2 separate regions of the Homo sapiens genome follow, and region 2 is linked to region 1. The links are contacts of gene promoters, found by promoter capture Hi-C in blood cells and fetal thymus (Javierre and others, 2016). All regions are on one chromosome and are shown on one strand. The core of a region is centred on a gene start or on the middle of the fragment in contact, and the rest is flanking DNA. Distances in the headings are between cores, read along the strand shown.

Region 1 (4,966 bases), core at 853-3,352:
AGTCAAGACTCTATAGCGTAATTTGATGGATAACACAAAGACAAAAATTAACAGAATTACTAGACTTCTGTCCTTAGTGATTATTTACAGTTTAGGTGTTTATTTTCTGTCTTTTTCAACTAGACTGTAAGTTCCATGAGGGCAGGAACTTTGTCTTGTTTGTTCTTATTTTCCTAACATGTAGAATGGCGCCTGCAAATAACAGTTGCTCAGTAAGTAGTTTTACATTGCTTGAACCACAGTGATAGGCTGTGATGAGTACTGTGATAGCAGTATGCACTGGTGCTATGAGAGCACAGCATTCACTCTGTCTTGAGGTTCAGGGTAGGCTTCAGAGAGAAGGTGACATTTGAGCTTGAAGAGTGAGTAGCACTTCATGAAATAGAATGAGAGAGAATGGTATTTCTTTTTTTTTTTTTTTTTTTTTGAGAATGGTATTTCAGAAAGGGTGGAACACCATGAATAAAGCAATGTGTTATTAAAAAAATAGTATGTTTGGGGGATAATAAAAAGTTTATCTTTTGAATTCTGATACTTAAATAGTCAACAGTATGCATGGGAAGTAAATTTCCTTCCATACAGGCATACATTACTTCATGCAATAGTTGTGAAACAAGGACCACAGGGAGATGCAAGCAAATTACGTTTAAAAGACTATGGAGTAAAATTCTTTTGTCAGGTGGATTAATCTATCCCTAATGAATCTCTCCCGAGAAGCTTTTCCCTCCAAAGGTCTATCTTTTTCCAAGACGTTTATTCAGGGAGGTATCCTTCATATCTCCCTGAAAAGAAAGAAAAGTAAATAGTGGCTAATGCTTTTAACAATGATTAAAAAAATCAGAAAGGTCAAGGCTTTAAGGTCATTTAATGTGAAGAGGAAATAAGATAAATGTTCAGCATTTAAGGATTATCACTAACCCAACTTTTCATAAACACAGAATAGTGGAGGTGGAACCTGCAGAGACTTTTATTCAGGGAACATCCACTGCGGGACAGGCAGATGCTTTGGTATCCAGGCTGCTCCGCGCCGCCAGCTGCCCAAGTAATCCTCACAACAGCCCGCAGAGGTAGGTATTAACCACCCTTTGTTTTACAGGTGAGGAAACAGAGGCACAAGACGGTCAGGTAACCGGCTTGGAGTGATGAATGAAACTAAAATAAGCGCCGACCTCGAAGCTCATTTGGTCTTTCCCCAACCCCATGCGGCCTCATTAAAGAGACTTTTTTGATTAGCTATGGAGAAAACGTTCTTCATCAAACATGAAATGCAATCCGGAAGGCACAGGTTTCTCTCTCTCTCTCTCTCTCTCTCTCTCTCTCTCTCTCTCTCTCTCTCTCTCTCTCTCTCTCTCTCTCTCTCTCTCTCTCTCTCTCTCTCTCTCTCTCTCTCTCTCTGTCTGTATGAAGTGGCTTCTGGGGCCCCACGAAGCAATGTTCCCCCAAACAGCCCCGGACGAGGGTGTCTATAATTCATCCTGTTATAATTAACCCCGGGGTTACGGTATTGCTTCTAAAGCCCTTGTTGAAATGCAGATATGGACCTCGCAGGATTGACACGATCTCTCAATTACACCTAATTAAAGAGCTGGCTCTTTGAGAATCTGACCCGACTGGGCCAGGAGTGGGAAAGGCGGGGGCTGCCGGTTGGGGTGAGGGATAGGGTTCTGCAGTCCCGGGAAGGCAGGTGAAGGGTGGGGATCAGGATTGGAAGAGTCACTGGGTGCTCGGTGAGACGAGGGAGGTTGGAGCTGAACTAAAACAAAGTTTGACTTCTGGACAATTATCCAGGGAGAGGGCGGGGAACACACCTTGCCCGGACTGTCTGGGAATCCCATTGACAGGTCATCTCAGGTTCACCATCTTCCTGTCGTGGGCTCCTCCAGGGAGGCCACCCGGGAGCAATTAAACTGGGCCACACCAGCCACCTCCCACAGCAGCGGGGTCCGCAGATTTAACCCTTTCCCCCCAGATTCCGGCACTGGGTGCCGCGCTCTCTCCCCCAGCACCGCGCCCGCGCCCCCGGCTCCCGGACTGGGCATGCTCAGTAGCCGCCCGCTTCGTGCTCCCAGGGAAGCCTCTGCACGCCCTCCCCCGCTGCTCTCGGTCGCCTCCTCGCCGCCAGCCGCCCCGGGTGCATCCCGGCTTGCTCCGCTCCACGCGACCCAGATTCCTGCCCCGCCCCCGCCCCTTCCGCGCCCGCAGCCAGTGCGGCAGCCGCGGCCGCCCCTGTCCAGCCTCGGCGCCCGGGACCGAGCGCGTCGCTCGCCGCCGCGGAGCGCGTAGCCGGAGCGCCTGGGGAAGGCGGAGATGAAGACCACGCCGCCGCGCGCCGGGAGCTGCTGAGCCTACCGCCGCCAGAGTCCAGGTGATTGGCGACCCCAGAGGAGCCTAGGGAGTAGGGGCGAATGCCCTTGGGGAGGAGAGAGGTGCGGCGAGGACGCGAGGCATCACGCAAGCTGCGCTGTGCCTGGGAGGCAGCAGAAATGCTAAGCATCGGGGGCAGAGAGGGAACGGGAATGAAAGTGCACTCTGCCTTGGTGCAGGGGCTCCGGGGTCACCCAGGACAGTGATTTCCCCTTCTATCCTGTCCTCCCAATTAACACCCGAGAGGCTGCAGGTCGGCGCGAGAGGCTGTTTGCATCTCGGCCCGGGCGTAGGTCGCCTAGCGACCTAACGCCGAGGGCTCGGGGAAGGGATCCCAGACAGAGCCAAAATGGAAGGCGGGACAAGGGCGGCCTGGCTGGGGCGAGGGGCTGGTCTGGGTCCCTGGGAACCCCTTGCCTTGTGGGCTTCGGTCTCCAGGGAGGAGCTAGGCAGCCGGGCTGCGGGGCCGCCGGACTGTGGGGTCCTCCGCGCAGCGAGCTGGGAGGAGCGGTCGGCTGGGCTGTTGAGCTGCGCCTCCTCCAACTGCTGGGAAACTCCGCACTTCAATATTGGAGCATCTCTTTCCCGGGCAGGTAGAATTGGACAGCCGAGTGGGGAGTGACAGCTGACAGCTGACGGGGCTGTTAAAAGCAGAGCAGTGGAGTGTGGTGGTGGGGTGAGCTGTTGTGGGTGCTTTTTTTTGTTTTCCAAGTGTGGGTACGGGCTGTTCTGACTCAGTGTTTATGCTCAACCTCTAAGCGGCGAGTTCGGTAACACATCTTATGAATATTTCAGGAACGACCTCACGGGCTCACTTGCTTCAGATCAAGTTTAATGAATATGTTGTCAGCCTTTCTGCTCTGCACAGTGCCCTGAGCTTTCCACATTTCATCCCTTTCCCCCACCACCTAGGAAAATACGCTGCTAACCCCCAGTGGGCCGTAGATTGGTACTATCAATTGAGTCTGTCATTTGGAGAGACCAATTTTGGGCAGGCATCCAGGCATTGTTCTGCATCTCTGCAATGTATACGTTTTGTGCCGGTGGCTTGACAACCGTCCTTAACTGGTGCTGCCAATATGGTGGAAAGCAGGTAGTATGCTTGTATTGGGATAAATGTCTTAATTCATTAACCTATTATGACAACACGTAGTTACAGCAGACTTAGTCATTCCCTCCCCCAGAAGTTTTCTCGGGGGTCAGTTTAGTTGGTATTTTGCCAAAGGCACACTCTTGTATCTACATTGGGAGGTATTTCTCTCATCTTAATCTTTTTCATAGGAAGAAGAAATAAATGTCTTCTCTGTAAGACATCACTGTCAAGAACACTGAAAGAAGAACCCATTAACGTAGGGAACGTTGAGGACTGGAACAGGTTGTAGGGCGTCTTCCTACACTTTGGGTTATAACTTCCATTGCATCACCACCATTTACCAGTAAACCAGCACACACAGCAATCAGTACTCGAAATGGTTCTCTTTTGCAGAAAAAGCCTGCTTTTCTCCCAGCTTTGGTGAGATAGATACGTAATCTTCGTAAAGACCTATAAGGAATTCCTCTGTGGAACAAAATTTTAAGCCTCCAGTACAGGATGCTGAAAGAAGCAACTCTTTAATCTTGCCAGCCCATGCACAGTGAAGCTGAAGTGCTTCAATTTACAGATGTTTTACATTTAGGGAAGGCTTTTCCAACAAAGACCTACCGCAGTTACATCACAGGCTCCACCTCCGCCTGCCAGGCTGCTTCTGCAAGGCTGTTAGTAAGGATACTATGTATTGCTGTGCTTGATTAATGAAGAAAATAAATCTCCAAATCAAAGATTTGTTTATTTCTCTTTTTGCATTCTGCTGATTTAATTGAAAATATGAAAATTTCAAAAATTAATACTTGCAGCCAGGACTTAACTGAGGCATGATAATAACTCTATAAATGTTAGCTTTCCAAGAGATCTTAAGCAAAATTACAGTATTCTTTGTAAAATCTTCGATAAATTGTATTATAAGAAAAATTCTATGAAATGGACAAAATAAGTGAAAATGTCATGTAATAAATTAAGCAGCATTTCTTAAAGCACGTTACTGAGATGTTCAGAAAGAAACCTAGTTGCATTAACAGACATGAAATCTGGATGATTGAGAAGTTTGCGGAGCTTGCATACAAATCCCCAGGTGCATTAAAGGAAGCGTTCTCCGAGTCCTCTGAGAATTTTTAACAAAGCACTGTTAGGTTTTCCAGATTTAGCAAATAAAAAGGTGGGCTGCCCAGTTAAATTTGAATTTCAGATAAACAGTGAATTATTGTTTTTACCTATGTCCCATGTAATATTTGGTACGAACTTATACTACAAAATATTATTAGTTGTTTATCCTAAATTCAGTTTCGACTGGGCAGCCTGTATTTTTCTGGCAACCTTAGTTACTGGAAATGTTTCATTCCTCCTTTTTGGGTCATTTATGGGTTGAAAAAATAAAGTGGAGCAGAAATCATATGCTGTTCTGCAGACAATCTGGGACAAGCTCAGTTCTGGTTCAAGCTTTTGAAAATAACTCATGCTTAAAAGTGAACAGTTTCACTTCAACACATATTGGTTGGGTATCTCTGC
Region 2 (4,966 bases), core at 1,084-3,583, 310 kb after region 1:
ACATGTGTGGGCCACTGTGCCCAACTTTTTTTTTTTTTCAGACGGAGTCTTGCTCTGTTGCCCAGGCTGGAGTGGAGTGGCCCGATCTCGGCTCACTATAACCTCTGTCTCCCAGGTTCAAGTGATTCTCAAGCCTCAGGCTTCCGAGTAGCTGGGATTACAGGCATGCACCATCACACCCAGCTAATTTTGTAGTATTAACAGAGACAGGGTTTTGACATGTTGGCCAGGCTGGTCTCAAACTCCTGACCTCAAGTGATCCATTTACCTTGGCCTCCCAAAGTGTTGGGATTACAGGCATGAGCCACCATGCCCAGCCACCTCCTTTCTTTAAAAACAGACACCACAGAACTCCAAAAGGGGAGAATAATTATGAGAAGGGAAAAGACAGAAATAGAATGCACTGATCTAGGGCTTTAAAAATCAGATACTTTACCTTTTTACACTTGAAAAGGAGAAAGAGGTTGCACAAATTGTAAGTGAGGTAACTGGGATTTGAACCCAAGTACTAAAACCTACCTCTGTCTTCAAATCTCATATTCTTTTTTTCTTATTTTTGTGGGTATATAATAGGTGCATATATTTAATTTCATACCGTTAATCACCCTGTTTTCTGCTTTTCAATTAAGAAGATTAGGCATATTCTTCCAAAACCACAAGTCAAATGTCTGTATGCCTTCCACCAGTCATCATTTGGAGAAGGTGTTTTTCTCAAAAGCAAAATCCTAAGTGAGGGGAAATCTAAGGTACAGGCCACTTACCTTTTCATTCATTCATTCAATCATTAAGTTCTGAGTGCTTACTCTGTGTCAGACACTGTCCCCGTACTACATATATATAGCATGGAAGATGGGGTGGGGAAATGAGCAAATAAATAATACATAGGAAGACTACTGGATAGTTATAAGCGCTAGTGGTAGAAAGGGAGGAGTGGGAAAGCAGAAATTGATAATAATAACCCTGAACTTGAAAACAGAAGCACTAAGTACTAGCTTGGTTTTGCCACACACTAGAGTTTGGTGCTTGGGCAATTCACCTCACTCCCTTAGATCTTAGTTCATCACACATCAAATAAGTCATTTTGAAACATATTGTACTGAGCAGATGTGTTTATATTTGTTCCTTTCCAAAATCCCAGTGAGTAATAGTAAACAAATTAACAACAACAACAACAAAAGAGACTTAAACCCACAAAGACAACAGAAGAAAAGACAACAGTAGACAAGGATGTCAACCACATTTTGGAAGAGACAAGTAATCAAACACATGGCAACTGACAGTGGAAATGAGGAAGCTGAAGCCTCCTGTGGAAAGTCGGAAGCCAAAACAACCCACCAGAGAGAACAAAATGAACTCAGAGCAAACATAGACTAAGCAGGGACTAAAGGAAAACTTCGAAGATAATAATTAATATCATGAAACAAGAAGAGCACAGTGTACAAAGAAAATAATCAGAGAGCAACAACAAAAACAACAAAAAACTGGCTGGGTGTGGTGTTTTACATCTGTAATCCCAGCACTTTGTGAGACCAAAGTGGGAAGATTGCTTGAGCCCAGGAGTTAAAGACCAGCCAGGGCAACATAGAAAGACCCATCTCTAAAACAATAATAATAATAGATCAGCCAGGCATGTTGGCACACACCTGCAGTCCCAGCTACGCTGGGAGGCTGAGGTGGGTGGATCATTTAAGCCCAAAAGCTTGAAGCTGCAGAGAGCTGTGATGGTACCACTGAACTCCTGCCTGGGTGACAGACCCAGACCCTATTAAAAACAAAACAAAACAAAACAAAAAACCACAAACTCTTGGAAATTAAATGATGACAGCAAAAATTAAAAATTCAACTGAAAGATTGGAAGATAAAGTTGAGAAGCTCTATCAAAAAGTAAAACAAGAACACGAAGAGACAGAAAATGGGAGATACAACATAATCATCTACCAAAGTTGCTCTTTTCTTTTTGGAAGGTCTGTGGAGGAGAAAGAGCATTCATCACAGGTTTCCCAGAGAGAAGAGATAAGTCAGTGTACTGCTGACAACATGAGCCAGGGTTAAGGTACCCCTTGGAATTACTGATTTCTAAGATTAATAAAGTAGTTCTGTTTAAAAAAAGAAAATAGGAGATAATAAGAAAATTAGAATATATATATATCCAAAAAATATTACATTCAACTTTTAGGCATTTAGAGACAATAATAAGAAATGGGGCCAGGTGTGGTGGCTCATGCCTGTAATCCCAGCACTTAGGGAGGCCGAGGCCGGTGGATCACCTGAGGTCAGGAGTTTGAGACCAGCCTGACTAACATGGTGAAACCCCGTCTCTACTAAAAATACAAAAATTGGCCGGGCGTAGTAGCGGGCACCTGTAATCCCAGCTACTCAGGAGGCTGAGGCAGAATTGCTTGAACCTAGGAGGCGGAGGTTGCAGTAAGCTAAGATCGCGCCATTGCACTCCAGCCTAGGCGACAGAGCCAGACTCCGTCTCAAAAAAAAAAAAAAAAGAAAAAGGATAAGAAATGGGTCCAGTCACGGTGGCTCACACATGTAATCCCAGCACTTTGGGAGGCTGAGGCAAGAGGATCACTTGAGCCCAGGAGTTCAAGACCAGTCTGGGCAACATGTAGAAACCCCATCTCTACAAAAAAAAAAAAAAAAATTACCCAGGTGTGGTGGTGCACACCTGTGATTCCAGCTACTCAGGAGGCTGAGTTGGAAGGATTGCTTGAGCCCAGGAGATTGAGGCTGCAGTAAGCTATAATCACACCACTGCACTCCAGCCTGGGCAACAGAGTGAGACCCTGTCACAAGAAGAAGAACAAAAAAATAAATAAATAAAAGGAAATTCTCAAAGAAACAACAATACAAAACTTCCCAGAATTTAAAAGTGAGAGTCTCCGTGATAAAAGAGCCCACAATTAAAAAGAAAGGCACACATTGTAAAATTTTGTGAAAATTTTTAAAAGGATCCTAAAAGCTTCCAGAGAGGAAAAAAAGCAAGTAGATCACAAACATGTAAGAATGAGAATGGCAATGAAATTTTCAATCACAACATGGGAATCTAGGAGACAATACAAGGATGTCTTCAAAATTCAGATGAAAACTTATTTTTCAATCATAACACTATAGCCAGGAAAAGTGTTAATATAAGAGTAAAATAAAGACTTTTTTGAGCACAGAAGTTCTCAGAAAATGACTTGCTATGTATCCTTTTGGTGGGAAACTATTGGAGAATGTGGTACACCAAACTGAAAGTTTATTTTTTATTTTTTATATTTTTTTGAGACGGAGTCTCGCTCTGTCGCCCAGGCTGGAGTGCAGTGGCACGATCTCGGCTCACTGCAAGCTCCACCTCCCGGGTTCACACCATTATCCTGCCTCAGCCACCCGAGTAGCTGGGACTACAGGCACCCGCCACCACGCCCGGCTAATTTTTTTGTATTTTTAGTAGAGACGGGGTTTCACCATGTTAGCCAGGATGGTCTCGATCTCCTGACCTCGTGATTTGCCCACCTCGGTCTCCCAAAGTGCTGGGATTACAGGTGTGAGCCACCGCGCCCAGCCTCAAACGGAAAGTTTATTAAGAAAGTAGGAGATATTTTCTTTTTTTCTTTTTTTTCTTTCTTTCTTTTTTTTTTTTTTTGAGATGGAGTCTCTCTCTGTCGCCCAGGCTGGAGTGCAATGGCATGATCTCAGCTCACTGCAGCCTCCGCCTCCCAGGTTCAAGTGATTCTCCTGCCTCAGCCTCTCAAGTAGCTGGGACTACGGGCACATGCCACCATACTCAGCTAATTTTTTTTTTTTAATGTATTTTTAGTACAGATGGGGTTTCACTGTGTTAGCCAGGATTGTCTCAATCTCCTGACCTCGTCATCCACCCGCCTCAGGCTCCTAAAGTGCTGGGATTACAGGCGTGAGCCACCGCTAGGCCAAGAAGGAGATATTTTCTTTTTTTTCTTTTCTTTTTTTTTTTCAAGATGGAGTCTCGCATTGTTGCCTGGGCTGGAGTGCAGTGGCAGGATCTTGGCTCACTGCAACCTCCACTTCCGAGGTTCAAGCGATTCTCCTGCCTCATCCTCCCAAGTAGATAGGACTACAGGCTCTCTCTACCACACCCAGCTCTTTTTTTTTTTTTTTTTTTTTTTGAGACGGAGTTTCGCTCTGTCACCAGGCTGCTGGAGTGCAGTGGCGCAATCTCGATTCACTGCAACCTCCGCCTCCCAGGTTCAAGCGTTTCTGCTGCCTCAGGCTCCTGAGTAGCTGGGACTACAGGTGCACGCCACCATACCCAGCTAATTTTTGTATTTTTAGTAGAGATGGGGTTTCACTATGTTGGCCAGGATGGTCTCCATCTCTTAACCTCGTAATTTGGTAGCCTTGGCCTCCCAAAGTGTTTTGTATTTTTAGTAGAGATGGGGTTCACCTTATTGGTCAGGCTGGTCTCAAACTCATGACTTTAGGCAATCCACCCGCCTCGGCCTCCCAAAGTGCTGGGATTACAGGCGTGAGCCACCATGCCTGGCAGAAGGAGATATTTTCTATTCTGTATTTTTTTTTTTTTTTTTTAGGACAGAGTCTTGCTCTGTTGCCCAGGCTGGAGTGCAGTGGCACAATATCGGCTCACGGCAAGCTCCGCCTCCTGGGTTCATGCCATTCTCCTGCCTCAGCCTCCCAAGTAGCTGGGCACAGGCACCTGCCACCATGCCCGGCTAATTTTTTGTATGTTTTAGTAGAGATGGGGTTTCACTGTGTTAGCTAGGATGGTCTCGATCTCCTGACCTCGTGATCCACCCGCTTCGGCCTCCCAAAGTGCTGGGATTACAGGCGTGAGCCACTGTGCCTGGCCTATTCTGTATTCTGGCTGGTTGTTTGCGTCTCCTTCTGCAGTCATCCACAGGAATGCAGTGGTACAGCTCCAGGAAGTGCTTTCAGAATTTTAGGCAGTCCCATGCTGGCTCTTTCACATGCATGA

What was found. The method cuts DNA at HindIII sites, captures the fragments that hold promoters and counts their contacts. A CHiCAGO score of 5 or more calls a contact.
Region 2: a contact is called between a fragment that was not itself captured here and the fragment with the promoter of ELMOD1 in region 1, in 1 of 17 cell types (endothelial precursors). The highest score is 5.9, in endothelial precursors.

The regions. Positions count from the first base shown.
Region 1 is chr11:107,589,045-107,594,010 of GRCh38, forward strand. It overlaps ELMOD1 (ELMO domain containing 1), which reads left to right and starts at 2,103. Exons shown (of 12, transcript NM_018712.4): 1 at 2,103-2,365. RefSeq lists silencers at 1,986-2,095, 2,156-2,295 and an enhancer at 2,546-2,605. The HindIII fragment of the contact is 4,180 bases long and covers 716-4,895 here.
Region 2 is chr11:107,899,509-107,904,474 of GRCh38, forward strand. No RefSeq gene overlaps it. Among named protein-coding and RNA genes, the nearest start is that of RAB39A, 26 kb to the right of the region's middle. The HindIII fragment of the contact is 1,272 bases long and covers 1,698-2,969 here.